Linked DNA regions of Homo sapiens: region 1 is linked to region 2. The links are contacts of gene promoters, found by promoter capture Hi-C in blood cells and fetal thymus (Javierre and others, 2016). All regions are on one chromosome and are shown on one strand. The core of a region is centred on a gene start or on the middle of the fragment in contact, and the rest is flanking DNA. Distances in the headings are between cores, read along the strand shown. Region 1 has its middle 120 kb from the start of ZNF280D. Region 2 holds the start of ZNF280D (zinc finger protein 280D).

Region 1 (7,528 bases), core at 1,407-3,906, 120 kb before region 2:
AACATGAAGTTGAAAAACTTATGCTAAGTGAAATAATTCAGACGTGAAGACAAACACATATTTTATAAGGTATCTAGAATACACAAAGTCATAAAGACAGAAAGGATTAATAGAATTGAAATTACTAGGTACTAGGGGCAGGGGGAATGGGGAGTTATCGCTCAATGGGTAGAGAGTTTCTGTTTGGGATGATGAAAAATTTCTCAAAATAGTGGTGATGGTTGCATAAAACATTGTTTATATACTAAATGCCACTGAATTATACACTAGAAATGTCAAAGTGGTAAATTTTATTTTCTGTATATTTTACCACAATAAAAAGGGGGAGGATAAATAACAGCAAAAAACTCCTCCCATATTTTGCAGAAGATATAAACTTACAGATTCAAGAAGTTCAGTGAATCTCAAACAGGAAAAATCCCAAACAAATCCACAACCAAACACTGTGAGAATTGATTATATGAATTGGAGTTATCATGCCCAATTAAATTAGAGTCAGGAGACCAGGGGAAGAAAAGAAAAGAAAAGCACTCAGGGCACAAGTGCCTGCCCAGGGACTGTCTCCTAAGCCAACTGCCAAAATGATCTGCTACAACCTTAAGACTATTTTTACCTAGTAGCTGCTAAGATGAACTGCCATGACTTTAAGCCTAGTTTTACCTACCCATCATTACTCACCAATCAGAGCTTATGAGCTCCCAAAAACTTTCCTAATGCCAATGAGTTTTCTTACAAAACAATACATAACATTTCTCTAATAAAACCCCCAACCTTTTCTCTGCTCTTTGAAGATACCAAAGACCACCCTGGTCTGTGTACATGCCCTGAATGGTAATTCCGTTTTTCCAAATAAAACATTTTCTTTAGAGTTTCATCTCTATCATTTTATTTGACTTTGATAACACCATAATCAAATTGCTGAAAACTAAAGACAAAGAAAAAATTTGAAGGTAGCCAAAGAAAAACAATGCCTTATCATAGAAAAGAACATTGATTCACATGACTACTGATTTATCACCAGAAACCAGAGAGACTCAGATGAAATGGCACATTTTTTAAAGTGCAGAAACAAACAAAGAAAAAAATCTGTCCACCTAAAATTCTATAGACTATTAAAATTATTTAAGAATTAAGATGAAATAGACATCATTAGAAAAAGGAAAACTAAGATCATTTGTTGTCATCAGATCTGCTCTAAAATAATTATAAAGAAATGTCTTCAGCCAAAAGGAAATAGTACCTGAAGGAAACTTGGTATATTATGCATAAAGGATGAGCAACGAAAATGGTGGCTACCTAAGTAACTATAACAGACTATTCTCCTCTTGAGTTCTTTAAAATATATTTGATGGCTGAAAGCAAAACTCGTAACATTATCTAATGGGCTTTTAATGAATATAAATGTAATATGTATGACAACTATAATGTAAAGCATGGAGGATAAAAGAACATACGTGGGTGAGGTTTCTACATTCCAGTTGAAGTAAAATATTGATTCCAAGTAAAAAGTGAATATGCAAATTGTGCAGCTACTCTGGAAAGCAGCTTGCTGGTTTCTTGTAAGTTAAACATACACTTACCATTTGACCCAGCAATCCTACTCCTGGGTATTTACAACAGAAATTAAGACATATGGTCACACAAAAATATGTACATGAATGTTTATACCAACTCTATTCATAATCAAACAGGAAACAACCATATGTCCTTTAATGGTGAATGAATAAACATATTATTTATAGAATGGATTACTACTCAGTAATAAAAAGGAATGAACTATTGATACATGCAACAACTTGTACAAATCTCATAGACCTTATGCTGAATCAAAGTCTCAAAGTGTTACATAATGTATCAGTCTGTCAGAGGTGTTCGAACCAGGGTGACTCCGTCTTGAGTGAGGGCTGGGAAACTGAGGCTGGGACTTGCTGGGCTGCATTCCTAGAAACTAATGTATTCCTAGCCTCTAGATGTTTACGGTTAAGGGAACAGATGGATAATGTTTACTAAACAGATCCAGACTTGGGAGTGTCCTGATATCCTGCTATCTTGAGAAGAGAAGCATTCCTAGTTTTGCTTTAATGGTAATATCGATTATTGTAAAATACAGTAATTAAGAAAATTAATCCTTTATCACAAACCCTTGTAGCAGAGCACATCTCCCAATGATTTTTTTTATCCTATATATATAGACAAGTATCGTACCTAGGGTGGACGTGTTCCTCCTCTTACTTTCGGGAATGCCCTACTCTGTCTATGGAGTAGCTGTACTTTAATCACTTTACTTTCTTAATAAACTTGCTTTTGCCTTGCACTGTGGATTCGCCCTGAATTCTTTCTTGAATGAGATCCAAGAACCCTCCCTTGGGGTCTGGATCGGGATGCCTTTCCTGTAACAATTTCATTTATGTGATATTCTCAAAAAGAAAAACTATCAGTGGTTGAAATATAGCAAAAACTGAAGACCTGAAAAAAGAAATGAATTCAGAGTAGAAGATTTTAACTCACCTTATCCAGTAATTGATAGAACAAGTAGTCAAACAAAATCAGTTAGGATATAAAAGTTCTGAATAACAAAATTAAGAAAATTGACCTACCAGATATATGTAGAATATTGTACCCAACAACTGCAGAATATATATTTGTTTCAAGTGCATATAAAACATTTACCAAAACTGGCCATATACTCAGCCCTAAAGACAATCTTAATATATGTCAAAGGCTAAAATTATGGAAAGCATATTCTCTGATTTACCACTACACACCCATTAGAATGGACAAAATTAAAGAGACTGACCATACCAAGTGTTAGTGACAATTTGGAAACAACTGCAACTCTCATACAATGCTGCTGAGAATATAACAAAAAGCCCCTTCGGAAAACAGTTTAGCAGTTTCCTAAAGAATTAAAAGCATACTTACCATGCCACCCAGTCATCCTATTCCTATTTACCAAAGGTAAATCGGAGCTTATGTCCATACACAGACTTGCATGCGATGTTCAAAGCAACTTATAATAGCTAAAAACCAGAAACAGTTTGTATTTGTTTTCTGTGCTGCATGACAAATTCCTACAAATTTAGTGGCTTAAAATAGGTATTTCATTTAAATTTATTTTTGAATAGATAATTGGGTAACAGTTCAAAATGTGGTGCACTGGCCGGGCGCCGTGGCTCACGCCTGTAATCCCAACATTTTGGGAGGCCGAGGTGGGCGGATCACCTGAGGTCAGGAGTTCGAGAGAGAGCAGCCTTGGCAACACAGTAAAACCCCATCTCTACTAAAAATACAAAAATTAGCTGGGCATGGTGGCAGGCTTCTGTTATCCTAGCTACTCGGGAGGCTGAGGCAGCAAAATCGTTTGAACCCGGGAGGCGGAGGTTGCAGTGAGCCAAGATCACACCGCTGTACTCCAGCCTGGACAACAGAGCAAGACTCCGTCTCAAAAAACAACAAACAAACAAACAAAAAATACATTGCCCTTTAGCTATATTGGGTAGCAGGAAGGAAACTGAGAAATGAAAAACGTCTATTAAGTCTTTCTTTATATATATGTATGCATCACTTAACTGGTTGTGATTGGTACATATCTAATCCTAGTCAAAAGCCCAGGCTTTTGAGAGTCAGACTACCTATTTGGTTACACGTAACTAATTTCTTATTCACTGTGTATCTCAACTTTCTTATTTATAAACTAAGATACTAACAGTTTCTACTTCATAAGGCTTTTGGGAAGATTACAGCAAATAATCAACGTAAAGTACTTTTAGCTTGGTGCCTGCCATATAGCAAACGGTTAGTAAATGTTAGCTATACAAAATATTCACCTTAAACTCATTTTTAGAAAATAAGAATAATTCAAAAGGAACTAAGCATCCAAATGAAGCAGCTAGAAAAAGGACAACAAAATAAACTGAGAAAAATGTGTGAAGAGGACAATTTAGGTCAAGAGTGCTGTAAATTCAACACTGAACTCTCCCCCTTCTCTACAAATGTGAATTATAGATTCAATTAACAAGAAAAAGACAGTTTCATGCATGCCCAGATACAAAATAAGCATTTATTTGGGTCAGAAACAGAAGGCGGCAACCTAGTAAGGTGGGGCTAAAGCGGCAGCCCTGCCGATGTCTAGGTCCAGGAAGCAGCTAGGGGCCACTGGGAGTTTTTACTCCTTTGATGTAACGAAAGCACTATGTATGTGGCATGGAACCATGGTACAGCTGGGGTCTCTGTGTGAAAACAGCTGTGATCACTGCCTGAGGTTACTGCTTCTGTAAACCTGTATAACTTCATGGTTGGGGGTGGCATAAGAGAAAACTGCACAGAAATCTGAGCAAAGCTACATACTGCTTCAGATGCTGAGCCAGCTGCCACTTTGAGACTGGAGTTTCTAGCCACTGAGGCATAATTTTGGAGTAGAGTCCTAGACAACTAGAGGGGAGAAACCACAGAACTACTAGACAGGGAAGAGGGAGCACAGAAAGAGGCAAAGGAAAAAAAATACCACTTAAAATGAATCTGCAGATGAAAACGCCAAACCACCCAATAAAAATTATTAAGGAGAGACAAGAAAAAAATTCACTGAAAATAACCAAAAATATTTTAAAGTTTTCTTAAATAGGTCTTTAATCTGGAAAGAGAGAGAAAAAAACACTCTGGAGAAAAACTAATTGAAGGCAGAACCCAGAGAGATGACTTCTTCCTTGAGACGTTTGCTGAGCTGGATGAACCTGAGCATGGGTTTTCACAGCCTTGTCAACAGAAGATGGAAAATACAGTTTATATCTACGAGTAGAACTTCACACAATGCTGAAATCACAAGGATCTACCCTTTAGTATAAGGGTGAATTAGAAATACTTACACATTTCCCCAACTGAGGCAGGAGAATAGGGTCTGGAGGCAGGGAACTGAAGGCCATTTCGTGCTGAATCAAGGAAAAACACCAAGATTTGGGGGCACGGAATCTGAGGTCAATTTATGCTAACTTTCTAAAAGAGAAAACACCTGGGTCTGGAGGCAGGGAATCTAAGGCCAATTCAGGCCAACTTCCTAAAGCTAAACCAAAAGGTAAAATTCCATCTCCCTACAACCACCTGAGTAGCAAAGGATCAAAGGCTGCTGTCCCTGCCACCCTCCCCTTCCACCATGTCTCAGATGGAAAGGGAGAGTGCCTTGGATTGGCCTTGGGGCCAAGCAGGGACCATCCCTTCATCTGCACAGGGCACCCATTCACCTCAGCCTTTAGCCACAAACCAAATCCTTCATCCAGATAAGGGGTAACAGTAGGAACCTCAACAGGAGTACTTAAAACCTGGAAAACTTTGTAACGGGGCCCATCGGCCGCTTGTTTGAGCCCACTCCCACACTGTGGAGTGCTTTCTCTAATAAATTCCTGCTTTTGATACTTAATTCCTGTGTTTCATTCTTTTGTTACTTTGTGGGTTTTGTCTAATTCTTTGTTCAAAACGCCAAAAACCTGGACAACTTACACTCAAGGCCCTCCTTCTGCTGACACAACCATTAGGACTAAGAAAAATTATCTGTCTCCAATTTCAGCACGCTGGAGATAGGAAGGATTTCTCCTGATAATCTGTATTCACAATGTGGTCTTCAAGCAGGTTTGCAGCCTAATTTTATATCAGTTTTGTAGTCTCCAAAACCTCCAATAATAACTGTAAAGTAGTAGTGGACTAATAGTGCCTCCAGATCTTCAGATGATTGACACAATCTAATCCTCTTTGGAGGAAACTTTCTTTATTCCAGGCCTCTAAGAATTACCATGTGAGGACAATTAAGACATTAGGACACAATACAAATCACCAAACATTAAGGAAATAAGACCCCACAGGTTAGAACAAACAGAAACCACAGCAGAATCAGACGTGAGAAAAGTTTAGACACTGGAATATTCAGACATAAAATAATTTTGCTTAATATGCTTTAATAAATAAAAGACAAGCTTGAAAATGAGTAAATTACAAGTAGAGTTTAAGAAAAAAAAGAGAATGTCTGCAGTGTAAAATGTAATAACTGAAAATTTTAAAATTTTATGGATACAGTTAACAGCAGATTCAATATAAAGAGAGCATATTAAAACAATTAAGTTATGCAGAATATATCCCAGAGTGAATAAGAAAAAAAACGTTAAGAGTCATAGGGGATACAGTCAAAAAGTCTAACATGAACTTAATCAGTTTTAAAAAGAATGGAGCAGAAGCAATATTTGAATAGATAGTGGGAATGTTCCAAAAAGTCACTATTTCACAGATCCAAAAGCTTTAATAAGTCAAACAGAATAATAAACAGAAATCTATACCTAAACACGTCATTATGCATCTACAGAATACAGAAGACCAAAAGATCTTAAATGTAGCCTGAGAGAAAGAAGCACAATTAGATGGACAGCTATCTTCTTAGTAATCGATATAGAAGTGAGAAGAAAATAAATGGTATTTCAATATGCTGAAAGAAAATTACTGTTCAATGCACAGTTCTATATTCAGAAAATTTCTTTCCATGATGAGGACTTAAAGACATTTTCAAACAAGCAAAGGCTGAAAATCTGCAATCTGAAAACTCCCACTAAAAAACATTATAAAGGATGTACTTCAGGTAGGAGAGTCAACTTAGATAGAAGAAATGAAATTTAAGAGGTGGGGAACAAGAAAATGGTAAATATTATGGTAAATCTGAGAGAACCTGACTGTGATATGCTAATTTTCCTCATGGGAAATTCTTTAGGTCCTGGAATGAAGGCAGGTTCCTCTAAAGAGAATTAGTTCTGTCAAGCATTTGGGGGCACTCTTCATCAAGTAGTTAAAACAAAACAAAGGATTACAGCACAATTGTAGGACAGTTGTAGGGGCTCAACAAACATTTACTGAATGAATGAATGAGTAAATAGATGGATATCACAATTAACTCTACGTGTTCCTAGCAAAGGCTAAAAACTGGCTGCTTGCCAGCCATTTCTGGTTTGCAAACAATTTGTTTGGCCAACAATATATTGACCAAGACAAAGGCAAAACAAAACAGGAGATTTTATACCAAGTACTGGGCTTACATTTCTGGTTGTCAATAGTGGACTGAAACTGACTCACCGCTGCCACCTTAGAAGGGACGTCTACTCCTCCATGGAAGATTGGAATTGAAGTGTTTATACCTCCTTGTTTGGGATGAAGTTAAAAATAATTAACTTTAGACATTAATAAGTTAAGGATACATGGTATAATTTTCTGAAGAGGCAAGCTGAGGCTATTACAAGTTTTTACTTCTCTTATTTAACAGGGGAGAAAACACCCCACATGTGACAAGGAGTACAGTTAGCTTTCTGTATGATAACAGTAGCAACCAACCACTACTGAGTAAAGCCATCATGAAATACTCTCTTTCCTAGGCCTAAAAGAGGCTTATAACTGGTGAACTGTCAACATATTTTTGTTTTGCTCACACATTTCTGGACAACACTTAAAAATCAAAAGATGTAATATCCCATTCTGAGCCTGCATTTTTGATGGGCAGTCTTGG
Region 2 (7,830 bases), core at 3,746-6,245:
AACCATCAAAGGTTTCAAAAATTCTTCCAGTATTGCATTTTGATGATGTACATGCAAAAAGACAACCCAGAAGGAATGACAAGCAAGAACCTATCAGGGAAGCATTTGAAATTTAGAATCAGTATTTATAAGACAAATAGTTCCAGGGTCTTGTATGAAAGTTGCTAAGTACAGACAGTCTCCAACTTAAGATGGTTCAACTTACAACAATTTTCAACTTTATAATGGTGTGAAAGTGCATTCATTACTTCCAGTACTCATACAACCATTCTGTTTTTCACTTTCAGTACAGTACTCAATAAATTACATGAGATACTCAACACTTTATTATTAAAAAATAAGCTTTGAGTTAGATGATGTTGCCCAACTGTAGACTAATATAAATGTTCTGTGCATATTTGAGGTAGGCTAAGCCAAGCTACGATGTTCAGTATGTTAGGTGTATTAAATGCATTTTCAACTCATGATACTTTCAACTAATGACGGGTTTATCAAGGATGTAACCTATCGTAATTCAAGGAGCATCTATAGTTAATTCCATTCAGATGATGTTGCCCATTTCAGGTAGAAATACCTTCAAAAGGTGAAAAACATGAAATGAAAATCTGAGCAACAGGTGACAATGAAATATGATAAGCTTGGACAATGCAGATCTACACAGAGATTGGGAAAAGGCATGAAAGTAGAATCAAGATTGATATATACGAAATGACAGAAAAATTTCAAAATTCTGTCAGACATATAACTTGTGACAAATTTTTTACAAATTTAGACTTGGCTGAATATCACACAGCATCAAACTCTCCTTAGTTGGCACTGTTAGGAAGAACAGCATTGAACTTCTGTGAATTTTCACAAATGGAAAAGCAAAAGAAGTCAACTGCACAAAATCTGGATTTCGAATATAATTCATGATTCTTATTGTCCTAAGGAAAACTATACCTACTCTTCTCAGCTCAGTGCATTCTCAACCATCAATGAATTTTAAAATCCTTGCATAAATTAATCTGAAGTGATCTGTATTACAAAAAGACTACAGAAGTGACACATTCAAAAAGTGGGTCAGAAACAATACTTGGAAGAGAATGATTTGAAGATGGCTTATGACTGATATTAGTTCAGAGTATACTTTCATTGTACGGGAAAAGCTTCAGTTACAAAACTGGAAGTTACCAAGAAGAAATTCCTCATGCAACTAGGAAAATAACTTGCAGAAAATAGGAAGGGAATGTTGTCTTACCCTCTAACCACAATGATTTCTGCACAGATCTGAAAATGGGAAGAAAGAAAGATGTTCTTTGTACAGATACAGAAACTCAAAAAGAAAAAAATGTGTGTTACAATGAGAATGTTTATGCAAAGCGTTCAAATGTGATGTATATTTGTTGTAGGAGTGTTATGTAATTAAATGCATGAAATAGATTTTTTATTTTTTATTTTTCTAAGTACATACAAAGATATCTGCTGTATTGAAATTCTTATTAAAAGCTCCAATAAGTTGTTTTACATTATGCTTTATTTTTACTCCTATAAATTATACATAATAACGTAAAATGCAAAAAAAACCAGTCCCTTTTGACCCAGATGATAGTGATAATTGTACACTTTTCCTCGTATACTGAGGGTTAAGAGAATCCTTAAAATTGCTCTGGAGAAATAAATCAAAATTCTAAACATACAATTTTTGATATAAGGCACTGATTAAATCAAGTCATTATTTAAATCACTATTTAAAGCAATCTGAAAATTCAAAGTTTTTAATTCCTTTCTAAAGCAAGAAAAAAACTATTCAGGATTTATATATTTAATTAGTGAATATGTCGTAAGTATTCCTCATCTTCCAAAACTTGCTTTTGGAATAACAAAGTATGTTGTCAATAGAAATATCCAATTTCCTGTCACCTAAAACTACAGTTGACTTTTCATTTGTGAAAACTGCTATTTCAGTGAGCCAATGCTGATTAATAGAACACTGGAATGAAAAAGGACTGGATTAGTAGCCTAACTGGACAGATGTTCCAGTTGAAGCACTTGCAATCCTCCAACATCAAACTACTTCAGAACTTTTCTATTTACCATAGCTTACTATGGCTAAAATGGTCCTAAGCAAACTTTCAAAGAAGGCAAAGCTTTCTGACATCTACTTTCTGCCTCCTCTCTCCTAGTCTCCCTAGGCTCTGATGCCAACACATAGAAGCATTCCAAGTTCCCTAAAGTAGATGGGTTAGTATTTCCTCCAGAATTGTCTCCACTTCTTCTTCTTCCTAACTTCCAAAGCCATACCTAAACGACTGCTCCCAACTGTGTTTATCAGATTACTGCAGGTAAATTCCTACCAACTACTAATGCCAAAATATCACACCACAAATGACTTGCTAATTGCAGAAGGAAATGCTTACAATGGAAAGATAGCTTGTCACCACCTTATCTAAGAGATCAAATTTAGGATTATTAATAAGACAAGCCTACTTTATGTGCCTTTGGATGTTGTATGCAATGAAGCATACTGCATGGCTTATGAAGTATTCCTGTCAAAAAAATATTAAACCTAAATATATTCAAGCCTTTAGACCCAAATCCAAGTTTAGAGAAAACAGAGAGGATAGGGGGAACAAATTTAAACACTATCAGGAGGAACTATCACTAAAACATGGAATATGGGTTATTCTGAAAGACTACAGACCAGGTCTCTTCAAAAGGTCAATTTCGCCCAGTGCTGTGGCTCACATCTGTAATCCCAGCACTTTGGGAGGCCGAGGCAGGTGGATCACTTGAACCCAGGAGTTTGACACCAGCCTAGGTAACACGGCAAAACCCCATCTCTACAAAAAATACAAAAATTAGCTGAGTGTGGTGGCGTGCTCCTGGGTTCCCAGCTACTCAGGAGGCCGAGGTGGGAGGATGGCTTGAGCCCAGGAAGGAGGTCAAGGATGCAGCGAGCCAAGACTGCTCCACAGCGCTCCATCCTGGGACACAGAGCAAGTACCTATCTCAAAAAAAAAAAAAAAAAAAAAAGACTGAAAAGGAATTTTGAAGAAATGGGGGGAAATGTGAATATATACTACACCACGTTAGATTTTAAGGAATATTCTTCACTTTCTTAAGTGTGATTGCGGTATTGTTACACAGAAAAATGGCCTTGATCTCTTACAAAATACATACTGACACACATACAGCATTTAGGGCTGAACTGTCATATCCGTAATGCACTTTGAAACGTTCAGAAAACAGAATGTGAGATAAGTGGAAAAATGCAAATATGGCAAAAAGGTAGCGTTAAAACTAAGTGTTCAAATGGGCTATTTAACTTTCCAATATTTTCGAAAAAAATAGCAAGTTGCAAAGTTAAGAAATTAACTCGAGAATAAAAATATAAAAGCCAGGCTAGATGGTGCACACCTGTAATCCCAGCTACGGAGGCTGAGGTGAGAGGTCAGCTTGAGCCCAGGAGTCTGAGACCAGCCTGGGCAACATAACAACCGCATTTCAAAAGTAAAGTATAAAAATATCAACGAAAGGGCAACTGAGTAATGTTTCTTAAAATCTTTAAGTGAGCCTCCTTGCCTATTCTCATCTACCTCATTCCCACAAAAATGGTATATACTAGAGTTGAGCACCGGAGAAGGAGTCAGAAGACCTAAGGTTCTATTAATATAATTGGCCTTGGCTCTTCCTAGTCAGTGACCTCATTAAAGTCCTCTCCCTGAGGCTCTGTTTCCTCGCCTGCAAAATGATTCCAGCAACCCAGACCACTTCAAAAGGGGCTAAGAGATACAAATCAGGGGTTATCAATGAAAGGCACAAAAGCAAGACACAATTACAACAGTATTTGTAGTGATGTTAAAACATCAGAGGCACACAGCCCTAACAATGGTATAAGCAAACCAGTGCCTTCCCTGGTTAAGTTTCTGCGTGGAGACAGCTGGAGTTGGCACAGCAGTCCCCCAAAGCAGGACACCTTACAGATGCTAAGAGGCAGCTTTTGTGCTTTAAAACTGTCCTTCTAGCGTTCCATTTTATGTTTCATGGCACTAAAAAAGACAAATTCTGTCCAAACCTGAAAATAAAGCCAAATATTTAAGATGACAGATTTTTTTTTTTTTAACAAATCTTCGCAAACAAAGGCCTTTGGCCAAAGGTCTCCCGTGCTTGCAGAAGCGGGTTCACCTTGACGTTTTTCCTCTCCAGCAGATTTCTCCTTAAAAGCGTTAAAACTTGCGATAAGTTGGGAGGAATTCCTTCCATCGCTGGAGCAGGCTAAAACCTCAGAGTGAGATCATTCTTTCCGTCTCAGTAAGTGAACCTTGCAAAGCTCAGAAAATTTTGTCTCCAACTCCACGTTTCTCCTCAGGGCCCTTCTTCTGTAGACAATAACGGGAATTCTATGGCAGAGGAGGGGAGGTCTCTTTGACAAAAATGAGGGTGCAAACGTGGAACGACCGGTCATCTGGGCAAAATGAGGGGCCCTGTGCCTGCAAATCCCGAATCCCCTTTGGTCTCCTTTCCTACGACTGAAGAGACACGGGGGTGGGCTGTGGTGTGAGGACCATGGGTCTTGGCCAAACATCGGCACAAAATGTACCAAAGGGAGTTGCCTCCAGAGAGAAAAGCCAAAACCAGGCTGGGGACAAACAGGCGCACACGCCTGGGAGAGGAGGTGGCGGAGGAGCAGAAGGCGAAGGCCTGCGCGGCCCAGGCCTGCAGCAGCCGAGGCGGCTGCCGCGTCGCGCCGGGATACCTCCTCCCCCGCCTGGGCCGACGCAAGATGGCGGTCCGGCCGCCGCCGCGCAGCCGGTCTCCTCCCCCGCGCTCTGGGCGCTCCCGACGACCCGCGCCGGCCTCAAGACCCCCAGTCCAGCGCCCCCGGAGTGAGGCGGCGCAGGCCGCGCGGGAGGGCCTCTGCCTGCTGCAGCGCAGGGCGGGCGGGGGCGGGGGGGCGCTTACCGTGAGCGGAGCGGATCGGCCTGACTGGAGCCCTGAGGAGGAGGAGAAAGAGGAGGAGGAAAAGGAGGAGCACGAAAAACTACACTGCGGCGACGGCGGCGGCTCCCATTGCGGAGCTGGCAGCCGAGCCGTGGAAAGGGGGGGGCTCTCGTGCAGCCGGCGCGCTGCCTCATGGGTAGGCTCCGGGTCAGCCTCCCCGTGTCCGAGCTCCCTGTCTTCTCGCCGACGCGGGAGGCGGGCACCGGCATGTGCGCCGCGTCGCGGGCCCTCGAAGACCCACGCGCCCCGCCACGCGCCGGTCCGGGGCGAGGGCCAGGGCCCTGCCTCCATGTGGGTGCGAGCTGCTGGCTGGTGTGGCCGGGAGGCAGCCCCAAAATCCGGACTGCTCGGAATTTGCAGGCGAGGAGCCGTGCGTTCCGGGCCCTCCGCGTGTGTAACGACCCCCAGTCCGTTGGCTTGGAAAGTGAAAAGGTCATGGGATACAGCCGCCGTTCGAAAGAAGCAAGGGGCCTGTGGGTCGAAGACTAAACCAGGAGAGAAAAAGGAATCGTCCGTTTCTTTAAATAACGAGCTGATTTTACCAAGTCTGTTTTAAATGTGTGGTTTTGCTTGCGTTCCCTGTCGAGGTCAAATACGAAGAGACGAATCTGTACATTTAGCGTTTTATTTGGGACACAGGAATTGCAAGTTCAGGTTATTTACACATACAGGGTGGTCTTCAGTATGTCAGAAGAACAAAGAGGAGTTAGGGGGTTTTATTTTTTAAAAAAAGTTATCTATTGTTTTTCTAGAAAGTTCGTTGACATTTAGTAAAGTTTTGGGTAGCTGGTTAGTTCTGACTGGTGAGGGAAGGGGCTTGGTAAAGCTTGCCCTACAGCTGCAGCAGGTTCTTTGAGAAGCTAAAACCTGAAGATAAAACCTGTTTCAGGTTACAGCAGGCGGTTTCAGCAGCCAGGCTTGCTGAGAATTCCATTCTTAGAGCAATGTTATGTGCCCTGAGGGCTTCCCCCAGCACTGGCTTCTCCATTCTTTTAGTTGGCTATGACAAGAGTGACCCAATTAGAATGATTAACTTGCACACTCTAATTCCTAACTCTGCCATCTGCATATTAACCTGTAATAGCATTTTTTAAAGTTTGACAACGAGAAGTATAAGAAATTTACAAGAAGAACACTTGCCAAGATACTGCTTGCGTAAATACTTGCTAAAGGTTGTATTCTGATCTGTAAGGAAAGTTTCCTAAACTGATTGTCTTCTCAAGAGCAATGGCATTACTGGTGCAGCTTGTGAGTGACCAAGACTTGAAATCTTGCCTGTTAGGATCCATAACAGACACCCTGTTCAATCACTGAATCTTGCTAATTCATCTTCCTATTCGAATTCAGTTTCTTCTCTCTCATCTGGCTTTCCCCAGTTTTTCTCAAGTGTTTATCATTACTGTAGTCTCCATATTGATTACTGCCCCCAAATTAATCTTCCCCAAAGACCACCTGGATCACTCCTACAGATCTGGTGTACTTGGAGGTAACCATGACCTATCCTTCTCCCACATGGGCCTGGGATCATCTACCCAGCTTTCCCTTTTCTGCTGGCCCTGAAAAATAAACCTTACAGGAAAAGACAGAAAATAGTCAAAACAGCAAACATGGAAAGTTTAAAAATTCCAAAATCTTGGAACATTCTTAAGACATCGTTTTTCAAATGTCCCTAAAGGTTAGCAAAGCATGCTACAGTGTCAGGTGAAATTACAACAAATTTAAAGATCTCGGTTGGCTTTATTGCAATTCTAGATTCAGGCACCACTTCATTCAGTAAAACAGAATAGGTGTTCCCATGAATGGAGCAGATGTGGTTGGCTTTATAGACAGAAAATGGGCTGAAGAAAGAAGAAACAACAAAAAACAAGTTGGTCTTTTCAAAGTTACTTTCCTTGTAAGGTGGGGCACTGAGACAGAATAATAGAAAGAAAACTGATTGGTTAATACCAGGTTACTCCAGATTAATATTGTAAGAACAACAGCAGCCAGGTGTGGTGGTGTGTACCTGTAGTCCCAGCTACTGAGGAGGCTGAGGCAAGAGGATTCCTTCAGTCCAGGAGTTCAAGGCTGCAATGAGCCATGATCCTGCCACTGCAGTCCAGCCTGAGCAACAGATCAAGACGTTGTCTCAAAAACAAACAAAAACGACTTAAAACAGGGAACTTCATTATCATGGGGATTGAAGGTTTAAACTGGCCTGTTTGGGAAATTAGGCTGTTATCTCTCTCCTGATTTCTCAGAAGGCCACATAACAACTCAGTTTCAGTTTTGTGAGCATGGGTAACTCCATGTTGGTTTTTAGTCTAGTCTGCTGGGGCTTAGTGCAGGAGTTTGGTCCAAAATAATGGCATCCTCATAAAAAGGAATGAAATAATGGCAGTTGCAGCAACCTGGATGTAATTGGAGGCCATTGTTCTAAGTGAAGTAACTCAGGAATGGAAAACCAAACATTGTATGTTCTCGTAAGTGGGAGCTATGTTATAAGGATGCAAAGACATAGTAATGATAGAGTGGACTTTGGGGACTCCGGGGAGAGCGTGAGAGGGGAGTGAGGAATAAAAGACTATACATTGGGTAGAGTGTATACTGCTCGGGTGATGGGTGCTCCATAATCTCAGAAATCACCACTAAAGAACGTATTCATGTAACGAGACACCACCTGTTCTCCAAAAACCTATGAAAATAAAAAGTAAAAATAATAAAATGATGGCATCCTATTATTTTTATTTATAACAGGATGAAAGAGAAGATTGCACTCTGTATTCTAGAGTCTAGTCCTCACTTTGTAGAGACAAAAGCTCAATGTTGCCAGTCTCCAGAACTAATTTGAATCCTGGGGGATGATTC

Evidence for each region. Contacts are between HindIII fragments. The CHiCAGO score rates a contact against its expected background, and 5 or more counts as called.
Region 1: a contact is called between a fragment that was not itself captured here and the fragment with the promoter of ZNF280D in region 2, in 1 of 17 cell types (fetal thymus). The highest score is 7.4, in fetal thymus.

What each region holds. Positions count from the first base shown.
Region 1 is chr15:56,609,806-56,617,333 of GRCh38, forward strand. No RefSeq gene overlaps it. Among named protein-coding and RNA genes, the nearest start is that of ZNF280D, 120 kb to the right of the region's middle. The HindIII fragment of the contact is 6,604 bases long and covers 1-5,958 here.
Region 2 is chr15:56,728,514-56,736,343 of GRCh38, forward strand. ZNF280D (zinc finger protein 280D) reads right to left here and starts at 4,996. Exons shown (of 22, transcript NM_017661.4): 1 at 4,945-4,996. RefSeq lists a silencer at 4,746-5,015. The HindIII fragment of the contact is 3,680 bases long and covers 2,128-5,807 here.